Linked DNA regions of Homo sapiens: region 1 is linked to region 2. Evidence: promoter capture Hi-C in 16 types of primary human blood cells and fetal thymus (Javierre and others, 2016). All regions are on one chromosome and are shown on one strand. The core of a region is centred on a gene start or on the middle of the fragment in contact, and the rest is flanking DNA. Distances in the headings are between cores, read along the strand shown. Region 1 overlaps WDR25 (WD repeat domain 25). Region 2 holds the start of BEGAIN (brain enriched guanylate kinase associated).

Evidence for each region. The method cuts DNA at HindIII sites, captures the fragments that hold promoters and counts their contacts. A CHiCAGO score of 5 or more calls a contact.
Region 1: a contact is called between a fragment that was not itself captured here and the fragment with the promoter of BEGAIN in region 2, in 4 of 17 cell types (megakaryocytes, M0 macrophages, total CD8 T cells and 1 more). The highest score is 6.4, in megakaryocytes.

The regions. Positions count from the first base shown.
Region 1 is chr14:100,385,332-100,389,274 of GRCh38, reverse strand. The region is part of intron 2 of WDR25 (WD repeat domain 25); the gene reads right to left. Among named protein-coding and RNA genes, the nearest start is that of WDR25, 11 kb to the right of the region's middle. The HindIII fragment of the contact is 1,585 bases long and covers 1,561-3,145 here.
Region 2 is chr14:100,584,980-100,588,830 of GRCh38, reverse strand. It overlaps BEGAIN (brain enriched guanylate kinase associated), which reads left to right and starts at 1,414. Exons shown (of 7, transcript NM_001385089.1): 1 at 1,414-1,582. The coding sequence starts at 1,541. The HindIII fragment of the contact is 6,858 bases long and covers 1-3,851 here.

The sequences.
Region 1 (3,943 bases), core at 1,104-3,603, 200 kb after region 2:
AGGGAAAAAAGACTAGAAGGAAACGCTGCTTGCAAAATGTTCATGGTCATTAGGCTTGAATGAAGGGTCTATGGTTTATCTTTTAATTTCTGCCATTTTCTTGCATTTTTTCCCAAAATTTTACCACTTTTATGATAAAACAAATTAAATCTAAAACAACTCATTTGGACACAGGCCATCACTGGGCATTAGACAAGCACCTTTAAGAGTCTACTGTCTCCGAGTTTTAAAAGCAACAAGAAATAATTTACTAGACTGTCTCGACTCCTAAGTGCGCCAATTTTGCAATCTGCATTTTTCAATTACATTAAAAGCATTTTTCCAAATTGCTCTATCCTTCCCTTAATGACATGGGATGAGAGTGAATGAGGCTTGCTTCTCGAGGACAGAGGCTGCACCTTCACACGGCTGTTTTCTTCCTGTCAGCTTCTGGCGAGCACAAGGCCCCGCCCTTGGTACACTGAACTGTTTAAGTTAAATGGAATGAAGTTATTAAAAAGCAGAAAACACAGCTTGGGTTCTGCTACACTTTCCTTTTCTTATTCCTCTTCAACCCAAGGTTTTTTCTGTAAGATACAAGATTGTAAGGCAACTGGAACTGGGAAATGTCTCATTTGTTGGCCTCAGAAATGTCGCGGCTTTCACATGGGGGAGGAGGAGTGTCAAAAAAACTTCACTTCCCACGAAGAGAAGATTCCAGCTCAGAATCTCATGGCTCTTCCCAGAGGCTCGGCAGCTCTGCTGCCAACCAGTCTAAAGCCCCACACTCCCAATCCTGGGGTAATTCAGATGATTCTGAAAGTCCTCTGGAAGGTGGGAAAGAAGAGAAGCAAATATAGTGTCCAGACTAGGAAGCATCCAAACACCTATTGTGTGTCCTCGGGCGTGTCTTCCCCTCTATGGGCCTCTATCAAATGAACCAGATGAACGCTATGCATGCACGCACATGCGCACACACACATCACCAATTCTCTCCTCACCTTCATCTAATTACCCTGGATGCACTGTTAATCATTCACTCCCCAAATACCAAAGGCCCACTACCACCACCCAAACCTCCTTCCCAGCTGCGCCTCTCATTGCCAATAGATTTGCCTCGTGCTTAGAATAAATTGCCAATCATCTGCATAATGCTCCACAACTCCTCACTCCACACATCAAATCATTTCTCAATCTCATTTTGTAAAATCCATCAAGAATAATTCTTTCAAAACTGAAATAAACCCTCACTCTGGCACTTAGAGCCATAAATCCCTTGTCTTTGAATGTGAAATAGATCACTTTCTACAAAGCACATCTAAGATATCTTAATGTAATCAGATTCACTAACAATGATAAATCAACAGGATCCTGTGATACATAAAAATGCAAATCCAAACCACCCCAGAAATCATCTCTTCTCTGTATGTCCCTTAACAGAACCACAAAATTTGGAAGCTGGGATAGAGCTTGGACACCACCTGGGTGAAGGGGATGCGCTTTTCCATCCCTTATTCTCAGAGGCAGGAGGGCAGCGTGAGTGGTGGTAGCTCTTTCTGCTCAGGCTCTGAGTCTGAAGCTTCCCTGCTTGCCTCTATCATTTACTAGCTGTGTGACCACGGACAAGTCTCTTGACCTCTCTGTGCCTCAATTTCCTCATCTGTAAAATGGGAATGAGGACAGAAGTGGCCTCTCAGGCCTGTAATGAAGAGGAGACGGAGCGTTTAGAACATGCCTAGTACATGGTAAGCACTCAGCAATGGCTAGCGCTCTCCATCCTCTCATCCATGCTTTAAATGTGACCACTTTGGGGACAGGGAACCAGCTCTCCAACACAGACCTGCCAAGTGTTCAGTACATGAAAAGGGAGTGCATGAATGGCTTGGCACAGACAATCCTCAAACTCTTTAGATTCTAAAAGTATTTATCTCAAGAACACTGAGATTGAAACGCTTTAAAAACGTGTGCATAGAGACAATGAAAAGATTCACAAAAAACAAGAGTTACAGTAAGTTGGAGGATTCTGGGTGATTTGTCTTTTCTACACTTTGTTTTATAACTAATCAAGACAGGTACAGGGGAATCAGAAACATGCTTCCTCAGCCTCTCCCTTGTCAGGCACTAGGCTGGATCTTCTCATTTCAGCTCTACAGCAACAACCTTAATTGGTGGCCATTTACCAATTATCCCCATTTTACCAGTGAGGAACTAGGGGATCAGAGAGGCTAAGTGATTTTCCCAAAGTCACACAGCTACCAAGCAGAAGATTTGGCATGGGAGCCAAGGAGTACAACAGTGGTACTGAAGGTTTGCCAATCTAATCAGGTCCCACTCTCACCACACACAAGGGCTTTAGCTAATGCCTGGGTGTAAATCAAAGCCCATCTTTTTCTTTTTTTTTCTGAGATGGAGTCTCGCTCTTTCACCCAGGCTGGAGTGCAGTGGTGCGATCTGGGCTCACTGCAAGCTCCGCCTCCTGGGTTCATGCCATTCTCCTGCCTCAGCCTCCCGAGCAGCTGGGACTACAGCCGCCCACCACCGCGCCCGGCTAATTTTTTGTATTTTTAGTAGAGACGGGGTTTCACCATGTTAGCCAAGATGGTCTCAATCTCCTGACCTCGTGATCCGCCTGCCTCGGCCTCCCAAAGTGCTGGGATTACAGGCATGAGCCACCGCGCCTGGCCTCAAAGCCCATCTTAACTGCATTAAGGCAGCAAAAAAAGACAATATTTATGTATAGCCATATTCACTGTAATACTGATTATTTTTTAAACAAAAGCAGGAAATTATAGGAAACAACATGGAAATGATGGAGCAAAGTATGAAACTTGAGACAGTTATAAAAATATATTTGGGGAAAAGTTTTTAATAAGGTAGAAAAATTCCCCTTACACGTTACAGAAGATTGGGCAGCAGAGGAAGAATTCAAAACTGCACATACTATGCAATAAGCCCAATTATGTAAACAGATAGGAATGTAGGGCCCCCGACCAGGGAGGCCCCTCATGTTAATGAGGCACTGACTTGGGGTTGGGAGTTATCAATGATTTCTGTTTCTCCTTCATACTTCATATTTCCTGCATCATTAAAGTTTTTCACAATAAGCATCTATTACATTCATGGTCAAAAATTAAAAGGTTTTTTTTCAAAGTATTTTAAGGAAGCTTGTTACTGAAAGAATTTCTAGAGCAAATTATTCTGTAAAGCAAATAAACAACATCTAATTCATATATTTTCTTTAAAAACCTTCTGTGTTTCAGAACTGCAGGTTTTCATACAGGTACAGAAGGTCCCTGGTGGGTCTTCTGTCACCCACCCAAAGGTCTTATTCCTTTGGGACTCCCTCTCAGTGCCTGGCAGAGGGTTCTGTACATGGGAGCATTCAATAACGGCTGGTTGTGTTTTTGGTTAACGCAGGCCACGTACATGTTTTCCTTCAAAAAAAGGCATCAAAGTCTGAATTTCTACCTTTACGTGCAGTGGGTGTTCAAACACGTTAAGCCAAAAGAGTTCACTGGGAGATGAAAAGAGTATATAAAAGGGTATCCGTGCTGGGATCACAGCTATGAAAAAAACAAGCACGTTCACAGACAAGGGGAGGAAGGGATCGTCAGGAAAGAGCAGCGGTGCAGAATTATGAGTCATTGTTTTATTTTACTTAATTTCTCTAGCTGTAAATTTTTCAAAACTAATAAAAGCATATTTTACAGCTCACAGAACATTTAGAACATATTAAAATAAGTATCTTTCCACTGTAATGTGTCCAGTTGAAATGTATGAATTCCGAAGCTACGTTTTAAGGATATGAAGGAACTGGCACTCCATGTTCTTTAGATTAATAAGTTGGACTGTGTTGTTTTTCTCCTGATCAGAAAGAAATCATTTTTCAGTAAATGTTACCTTGAATCAAGGATTCTTCCACATTCTAGAAGCTTGGATGAGCTGCTTATATTAAGTCTTACTG
Region 2 (3,851 bases), core at 165-2,664:
CACTTGGAGGCGCCTCCCTCTGTCCATTGGTTACCCAATCATGTCCCTGGGACCTGAGAGGGAGCAGAGACAGGACTTTGCTTGACACGAAGTGGCTCCAGTCAGCTGCTGGTTCTTTTGCTTGTCTCCTTTTTTTCTGGGTTTCCCCTCTTGCCTTGCTATCAGTGCCTTTTCTCAGCACTGACACTGCCTGAATGTAGCAACCTACTCCCCAGATTAAATGAGAGAGCGTAGAAACTGCAAAGCATACAACATACAGCATATAAGGATGGTGGTGATGGCAGCTCAACAGTGGGAACTCAGTGTCCCCAAACTGTACACTTTAAAAGTGGTTAAAATGGTAAATTTTATGTTTTCCATGTTTTCCACAATTAAAAAACAAAAATATACAAGGTACTCATTCGCAGCATCTTCTAATCTGCCATGTACTTGGAAATGATATAAGCATGTGTGAACCATGAGCCCATAGGTCCCGAGGGAGGATATGAGCGAAGCACACGGGCTTTGCCAGCTCTGTTTCCACCACGCAGGACCCTCCCTGGCTGCCAGTGCTCCTCCCCGGGTTCCCACGCTGGCTGCTGCTGGGCTGGCTGGGATGGAAGACCCTCATGTAGCTGGCACCCTCAGGGCTGCCCCTTGCCCGCTCTGGGAGGAGAGAGGAGGGTTCACGCTGCACCTTTACCAGGGTAGGACTGGCCAGCCTGGGCTCTACCGGGCAGGTCGGTGGGATGCTTCAGACTGGAGGGATAGGCAGGGGGCAACACTGGTCCTCCTGAAGCCACCTTCCCTTCCTGAGAGCTCCTTGGGGAGAAGGCAAGCCCTGGAAGCCACCGACTGGGGGCTCGGGCAGAGCAAGGGCAGGGTAAGGGGCAGCTTGGCCAGGAGGCACCCTTGGGAGCCAGGGTTTCCTCATCTGTAAAATGTGACTCTGCGAGGGCAGGAGCTTGGTTTCACTCGCTACTGTACCCCCTGGGGCCTACAGCAGGGCTGGTTGGTACACACTAGGTGTCTAATAAATGTTGAGGGATTGAATGGATGGACCGATGAAAAGGTTGGGCAGGTCATTACTGACAGCCTCTGGGTTTCAAGGGCCCATTCACTCTGTCACTCACCTTCGCGCCCGTGCATTAGTTCTCTCATTTATTCATTCCCCCCGCCCCCCCAGCCCCGCATGCTCTACCGCACTCATTCATTCACGCGCTCAGCCATTCAAGCTGGCGCGGGTTCATTCATTCCCTGCCCCTCTGCCATTCCTCGCCTGGCCCCCGCGCACGCCGCACCCCCGCGCCCCTGCCCGGCCCTGCGCCCACCACTTGCGCCCCGGCCGGGCGCTGCCGGGAGGACGCGCGGGCTCAGCCGCGGCTGCGCGGGGCCGGGGCTGGCGGGGAGCCGGGCTGGGGGCGGGGGGCGGGCGCTCCCTGCGGGAAGCCGGGCGGGGTGGGGGAGCCCCGGCCGCGCCGGCTCCCGGCGCGCTCGGCCTCGGAGGGGAGGGGGCGGCGGTAGCGGCGGCGGCGGTGAGCGGCGCGGCTGCCCTGGGGCCATGTGGACTGGCGGTCGCCGGCCGGGCCGGCTGCGCCGGGCGGTGAGTACCTGCGAGCCGGGAGGGCAGGGCGCGGGCGCGGGCGCGGAGGCGGGGCGGGCGCCACCCACGCCTGGGGCGGTCCCTGCTCAGCGCGGGAGGTGGCCGGCCCCCCGCCCCGCTCCCCTCCGCGCTGCGCCCCCGCCGTGGAGGCTTCACTGGCCCGGGAGGAGCCGGGCCGGGTCTCCTGGGAACTGGGCACTCTCGGGTGGGGCGGGGATGCCCAGCCTCCGCGCGCCGCCGGGAGCGCCCGGGTCCTATCGCGGGGTCCTTGCGCCCTGACACGCGCGCCCCTGCGGCGGAAGGAAAGGAGGGACGGGTGACCAAGGGCGCGGCCGGAGGACTGGGGACCCGCCGCTGTCCCGGGCGGGTGGCGAGGGTGCGGGCAGGCCTGGACCCGCCTGCGTCTGGGGGCAGGGCCAGCCCCTGCTTGGGAGGCCGGAGAAAGGCCCGGGAGCCGGAAGGAGGCTGGACCCGGGGCCGCCTCATTGAGCGTTTGCAGCGCGTGGGCGCGCACGAACCTCGGACACCACCATCCCATTCAGTACCTCGCGGCAGGTACTATCCTCCTGCCCCTTTACAGGCGAGGAAACTGAGGCTCAGGGAGGCCAGGGCCTCGCCCAGAGCGGCTCAGCCGGCGCGCTCACCCTCCCTGAGCCCCAGCACGTTGGATGGGAATTTCTGCCCCAGCGTTTCCGCTTCCTGCTTGGTTTAGAGGTGTTTCCTTCCTCGTCTGTGCCCCACCCCATCCCCAATGTGGTTTCCTCAGGGCAGGAACAGCGTGGGCGACGCGCTGGAGTCTCCTGAGCCGGCAGAATGGGAGCAGAGTGGGCACCCGGGAGCGGGGCCGGATGGATAGGGAGCACTGCACGTGCAAAGTCCGCATGGCCAAGGTCGGCCGCCAGTGCAGACTGGGGGTCCAGGCCCTGGGGGTATGGGTGGGGCGGGGTCTCCACAGCCAGGCTCCGTCGGAGGCCCCAGTGCTCTGGCTCTCTGGAGGCCATGGACAGGTTCTTTTCCTTCTCTGGACCCTAGTTCCTCTGCCTGCCAAGAGCAGCAGAGACCCCCACTACTCCCAGGGCCAGGCTCCCACGAGGACTGTGGGCAGAAGCCCCTAACAAACTGCGGTGTGCAGCCCTGCCAGGCTGGCCTTGGTCTTGCCAGCAGGGGCAACTGGCCGTTGGGGGTGGCTCTGCCTGGCATCTGTGACACGCAGGGCGGGGAGACGGCAGAGAGGGCCCCAGCAGCATCCTGCAAACCCTTAATTTTCCCGACTCTCACTATAATCAGGGCAGCTTGGAAAAGCAAGCACTGTGGCAGATGCGGCTCTGCCCGGGCTCAGCACACGGGCTCTGGGCGATGGGCGGCTGCGCTGCCGCCAAGGGCCCTCCCCAGCTTTTGTCTCATATTTATAGATTCCAAGGCTCCGCGTTCCGTTTGTCGTCAAAACCTGGAGCTGTTCGCACCTGGGAGCTGAGTGGGGAGGGGAGGGCTGCCTAGAACCTCAGCCTGGAGGATGAGTTTTCCATGCGCTGGGGTGGAGTAGGGGGACACCTGTCAGAGCCCAGGCCTGGAGAGAGGAAATGAGCCCTAAGCAATCTGGAAGATCTTCCATCCACTCTCCCAAGACTTGGGCGCAGGGTCTGGCCCACATAGCTGCCATTTATGGAACGCCTGCTATGTACTGGGCCCTGGATCAGCATTTCCACGCATCATCTCCACGGCAACACTTTGAAGGAGCTTCCCTACTCCTGCAGGCACTCCTGATGCTGAAGAGTGGATGGATGGATGAATGGATGGATGGATGGATGGATGGATGGATGGATGGATGGATGGGAGGGAGGGAGGGATGGATGGGAGGGATGGATGGATGGGAGGGAGGGAGGGAGGGATGGATGGATGGGAGGGAGGGAGGGAGGGATGGATGGGAGGGAGGGAAGGAGGGATGGATGGGAGGGATGGGAGGGATGGATGGATGGGATGGATGGATGGATGGATGGGAGGGAGGGAGGGAGGGAGGGATGGATGGATGGATGGATGGATGGATGGATGGATGGGAGGGATTGACTGAAGCCCATGAGTCCATGGCTATTGGACACAGTCCACAAATCATTACCCAGGGTCCCAGGAGGTGGGGTCCAAGGGCTGAGTAGTTGCTGAACAGATGAAGGGGTCAAGGTGTGTTACAGGAGCCTGGCCCAAGGCCTGAAGGTGATGGGGAGAGTGTAGAGTGTTCAAGTCTCAAGACTTAGAGAGGCTGTGTCCTGCTGGA